Regions from separate parts of the Homo sapiens genome. Here region 1 is linked to region 2. The links are contacts of gene promoters, found by promoter capture Hi-C in human tissues and cell types (Jung and others, 2019). All regions are on one chromosome and are shown on one strand. Each heading gives the region's core, a stretch centred on a gene start or on the middle of the fragment in contact. The rest is flanking DNA. Distances are from core to core; before and after follow the strand shown. Region 1 overlaps FARP1 (FERM, ARH/RhoGEF and pleckstrin domain protein 1). Region 2 holds the start of RNF113B (ring finger protein 113B).

Region 1 (2,723 bases), core at 134-2,633, 93 kb before region 2:
ACTAGCGTAGTGTCTAAGCCAGAGCAGACTCTCAGGTGTTTATGAATGAAGGAAACAGTTCTTTCATTTCCTTGAATAATCCTAAGTAGGCTGCTTTCAGCTCTTCTGTCATCCTGACTTGGGAAATTATTGAGACATCAGCAAAATGTATAATCGTCTTCATGAAAAGAGAGCTCACACAACTGCAATTCGCCTCGTCTTACATCATGATTTCTGATTCAGAGGACAGCAATGTAAAACCGTGAAGAAACGATGGCTCAGAGGGTGGCATCTAGACTCGTACCCTGGCCTGCCCTCGGGGCCCCTGCTCTCTGCAGTATACCACACCATCTCTGTACACTGCCTTGCGTGAATGTTCCATTTAGAAGAGAAGAGAGAAAAGAAAAAAATTAAAAGATATACATGCTTAGTTTCCCAATTTCTAAGTTGTCCCAATTCTCAGGCTAAGAAATCTGTTCTCATGACATAAAGTTAGCCATGTGCAGGATGAGTTAACTGATCTAGATCATGAAAATATTCACCATCCTGCATTGCTCCTCAACAAGTTTCAGTCAGGCTATCATGAAGCTGGTATCTGCAAACTCATCGGTTTCCTGCACACAGAGGAACTCTCAAGGTGCCAGGAGCTACCTCATTTCTAGGAAGGGAGCTGCGTCCTCAGGATGAGCATTCAACAAAATGAATTCTCCCAAGGAAGATACGCTGAGGCATTGTAAGTCATGAATAGTTTAAAAACCAGGACCCTACAATGCCCATGTCCACATTTAAAACCAGATGTGCAATCTTACATGTTCATATAAAGAATTTAGAGCACCGAGAGCTCTTGGAAAATAAGCACAAAACCCTTTTGACGGATATACTACTTGTATATTACTGAGGATGTGTGAACAGCTCAATCTTCATTCAACTGTCATAGAGACCAAGGATGGACCTTGACCAAATGAGAAGGGATGGGCTTAACACATGTTCTTCTATGGTCAAATGTGCAAGAAAGCACCACTGGAAAATCACCTAAATTTACCCAAGAAAAACAATTTTCTTGGTATTCAAGATAAACATAAAGCCAATTTTATGTACTGCATTTCTCCTTCTATAAAATTACCTATTCTCAAAAGCCTTTCAGTTAGATTCAGTGATCTCAGCTCACTGCAACCTCCGCCTCTCAGGTTCAAGTGATTCTCTGGCCTCAGCCTCCCAAGTAGTTGGGACTACAGGCGTGCACTACCAAGCCCGGCTAATTTTGTATTTTTAGTAGAGACATGTTGCTCAGGCCCGTCTCAAACTCCTGAACTCAAAGTGATCCACCCACCTCGGCCTTCCAAAGTGCTGGAATTACAGGCGTGAGCCACTGGGCCCAGCCCATGGTAAGTCTTAAATAAATAACAACTGAATTTTATTCTTACCTGAACCAACATCTTCGCTGACACCCCCCGACCACTCACTCAGGCAATATAGTCCCAGTAGTTAAGAAAAATAGTAACAAATTAAATTTTCTCTTCCCCAACCCCTTCCTTGACAAACAACAAGGTCAAGAATGAGCAGTCACTGAAAGCTAAATATTATGTTGACCCAAGAGTGGGACAAGGTTCAGTGTTTCTGGGCCTGACAGGCCCCTCATGAGCCTCATGTCCTCATTTGCCAAAAGCAAATAGAAATATCTGCCCCATCAATTTCATAGGGCTGCTGTGGATGAGTCTGTTGAGATGCCAAATGGCTTAGAACACAGTACACGAATGTAAGCACTAGTAACTAGAATCATCTTGGCGGGGAGGGCCTCAAAATCTGAACTTAATGAACAGAAATGACCACTCAATTCAAGCTCATTTTCCTGCTAAAAGAATCCATGAAGATTTTGTTTATACTTAAGTTATCCACTTAACTACTTTTATCCTTTTTCACAGATAATGAAAGAGCATCAAAAAGCAGCTCATGACATTCACCTAGAAAGATCACCATTAGAACTGCAGGGAGATATATTTAGATGAGGTTGACTGACTGAGGGAAGGTAGGGTAGAAACAAGCATATCAAGGGTCAGGGCAGTTCATTTTACCATAATTTTAATATTAAAACAAAGCCAGTAAATTACCAATATTTATTAAATACTATAGCTGCACAATAAAGCCATCCACAGAGTCCCTTAACTCAGCTACCAGAAGGGAGAGGCTGGGCATGATGGCTCATGCCTGTAATCCCAGAACTTTGGGAGGCCAAGGCAGGAGTATCCCTTGAGCCCAGGAGTTCAAGACCAGCCTGGGGAATATGGCGAAACCTCGTTTCTACAAATAAAAATAAAAATAAAAAAATAAAAATAAATAAAAATTAGCCGAGCGTGGTGGCACATACCTGTAGTCTCAGCTACTTGGGAAGCTGTATACACACACACACACACACACACACACACACACACACACACAAAGAAGGGAAAGGCCAGATGCAGTAGCTCACACCTGTAATCCCAGCACTTTGGCAAGCCAAGGCAAGAGGATCACTTGAGGTCAGAAGTTCGAGACCATCCTGGCCAACATGATGAAACCCTGTCTCTACTAAAAATACAAAAATTAGCCGGGCGTGTTGGTGGGCGCCTGTAATCCCAGGTACTCAGGAGGCTGACGCAGGAGAATCATTTGAACCCAGGAGGTGGAGGTTGCAGTGAGCTGAGATCGCGCCACTGCACTCCAGCCTGGGTGACAGAGCGAGACTCCATCTCAAAAAATAAAAGAGA
Region 2 (2,734 bases), core at 64-2,563:
AACTAGAATCCATTTACATTATATAAATGAATTATTTCACAACTTGAAGATAAACTCAAGAAAAAAAAGGGTTAAAAATATTTGAAGGCGGGGTGCAGTGGCTCACGCCTGTAATACCAACATTTTAGGAGGCCAAGGTGGGTGGATCACCTGAGGTCAGGAGTTCCACACCAGCCTGGCCAACATGGTGAAACCCTGTCGCTACTAAAAACACAGAAGTTAGCTGGGTGTGGTGGCACACACCTGTAATCCCAGCTACTCAGGAGGCTGAGGCAGGAGAATTGCTTGAACCCGGGAGGCAGAGGTTGCAGTGAGCCGGGATCATGTAACTGCACTCCAGCCTGGGCGACAGAGCGAGACTCTTTCTCAAAAAAAAAAAAAAAAAAAAAAAATTAAAAATGATTATCTTAGGTACCAGGAATTGGCGTGTGGAGGGGCCAGGCAGGGGACAGCCAATTTCCATTACAATAAGTGCTTGATAATATTTTTTTAAATGTTTACATGTGTTACTTTTATTTCAAAATGAAAGCCAGCTACACACCCACAGGTGCAGTGTGATATGACAGTCTTTTAATAAAGGCTATATTAAAAGAATAGACACAAAAGTGTTGACAGTGGTTATCTTTGAGGGGAGGGATTATAGGCGTCTTACTTTTTGCTTGTATCTGTTTTTGTTTTCTGCACTGCGCGTGTGTTGCTTTTAAATACGCATTTCAAGCGCCTGTGTTTTAGGATGAGCACCACCGGTTCGCTATGGCCTGGAATGATTCCACCCGTGGCCTTTTAGGAATCTGTTGAAAAATGAGTGTGCACTGAGGGAGCTGAGGAGCAAGTGAAGATGACTCTCTCAAGGAATCCATCTGAGGGCCAGGAGGCAGGTCAAGGGAGGGAAGGGCGGGAGAAGCCTTTTTTTTTGGTTTTTTTTTTTTTAATTTGAGACAGGGTCTCGCTCTGTCACCCAGGCTAGAGTACAGTGGCGTGATCTCGGCTCACTACAACCTCTGCCTCCTGGGTTCAAGCGATTCTTCTGCCTCAGCCTCCCTAGTAGCTGGGACTTCAGGCGCACGCCACCACACCCAGGTAATTTTTGTATTTTTAGTAAGGATGGAGTTTCGCTATGTTGGCCAGGCTGGTCTTAAACTGCTGACCTCGGGTGATTCTCCCACCTCGGCCTCCCAGTGTCCCGGGATTACAAGAGTGAGTCACCGCGCCTGGCCTAGCAGAAGCTTTTCTTTCACTTGCTTTTGCTTTTTAGAACTGGGAGGGCCCACGCCCCACGTGCAGCGACGCAAGGGCGACGCAAGGGTGACGCACGCCACGGCCGTTGGGAGCCTGAGACTCAAACATGGCAGCGCCACCTTCTCCAGGAAGGACGGCCGACCAAGCAGACCAGGTATGCACCTTCCTCTTCAAAAAGCCTGGACGGAAAGGGGCTGCAGGCCTCAGAAAGCGCCCGGCCTGCGACCCCGAGCACGGAGAGAGCAGCAGCAGCGGGGACGAGGGCGACACAGTGGCTCAGCCCCCGCGGGTGGCACCGAGGCCCCGGGGCCTCCACAGCTGGCAGAAGGCGGCTCACGGCGACAGGAGGGGCGAGGAGGCGGCGCCTGAGAGCCTCGACGTGGTGTACAGGTCCACCCGCTCGGCGAAGCCTGTGGGGCCAGAGGACATGGGGGCCACCGCTGACTTCGAGCAGGACACCGAGAAGGAGCACCATACGCCGACCATCCTCAAGTGCAGCCAGCGGGTCCAGGAGGCACTGCGGGGTCGGGAGCACGACCACATCTACCGGGGAATCCACAGCTACCTGAGGTACCTGAAGCCCAAGGACACGTCCATGGGCAACTCCTCCTCGGGGATGGCGAGGAAGGGCCCCATACGTGCGCCAGGGCATCTGCGCGCCACTGTGCGCTGGGATTACCAGCCTGACATCTGCAAGGACTACAAGGAGACTGGCTTCTGTGGCTTCGGGGACAGCTGCAAATTCCTCCACGACCGTTCCGATTACAAGCTCGGGTGGGAGATTGAACGGGAGCTTGAAGAGGGTCGCTACTGTATCTGCGAGGACGAAAACCATGAAGTGGGAAGCGAGGAAGAGGAAATACCATTCAGGTGTTTCATATGTCGCCAGGCCTTCCAAAACCCAGTCGTCACCAAGTGCAGGCATTATTTCTGCGAGAGCTGCGCGCTGGAGCACTTCCGGGCCACCCCGCGCTGCTACATCTGTGACCAGCCAACCGGCGGCATCTTTAACCCCGCCAAAGAACTGATGGCGAAACTGCAAAAGCTTCAGGCTGCAGAAGGTGGGGGCAAGTCCCATTTCACAGAAGACCCCCATGAGTGTCCAATTCCCATGGCTTAGGTTTCCCATAATTCTCACATTTAAATAAATTTTTTTGTTCTTTTAGGAAAAAAGAGATAAGAAAGACTCAAGTCTGTATGTACACTGGGGAGAAGCAGCCTGTTGAGTAAGATGAGAGAGATGACAGTCTTCCTGCAATCCCATGCCTGAGTATGTAACCAAAAGAATTGAAATCCGGATCTCAAAGAGGTATGTGCACTCCCATGTTCACTGCAGAATTATTTGCAAAAGCCAAGAGGTGTAAACAACCCAAGTGTCCATGGATGGATGAATGGACAAACAAAATGCGATACACACACACAATGGAATGCTATTAAGCCTTAACGGGAAGGAAATCCTTTTAAAGATTTAAACTGATCCTTTTAAGGATCACAT

The links. Contacts are between HindIII fragments. The study calls those that stand out against the background at their distance.
Region 1: a contact is called between a fragment that was not itself captured here and the fragment with the promoter of RNF113B in region 2, in 2 of the 25 tissues and cell types used here (IMR-90 fibroblasts and thymus).

What each region holds. Positions count from the first base shown.
Region 1 is chr13:98,268,471-98,271,193 of GRCh38, reverse strand. All of the region lies in intron 2 of FARP1 (FERM, ARH/RhoGEF and pleckstrin domain protein 1), which reads right to left. Among named protein-coding and RNA genes, the nearest start is that of MIR3170, 61 kb to the right of the region's middle. The HindIII fragment of the contact is 9,127 bases long and covers 1-2,723 here.
Region 2 is chr13:98,175,848-98,178,581 of GRCh38, reverse strand. RNF113B (ring finger protein 113B) reads left to right here and starts at 1,313. Exons shown (of 2, transcript NM_178861.5): 1 at 1,313-2,300; 2 at 2,406-2,734. The coding sequence starts at 1,346. The coding sequence ends at 2,419. The region is part of intron 1 of FARP1 (FERM, ARH/RhoGEF and pleckstrin domain protein 1); the gene reads right to left. The HindIII fragment of the contact is 2,632 bases long and covers 509-2,734 here.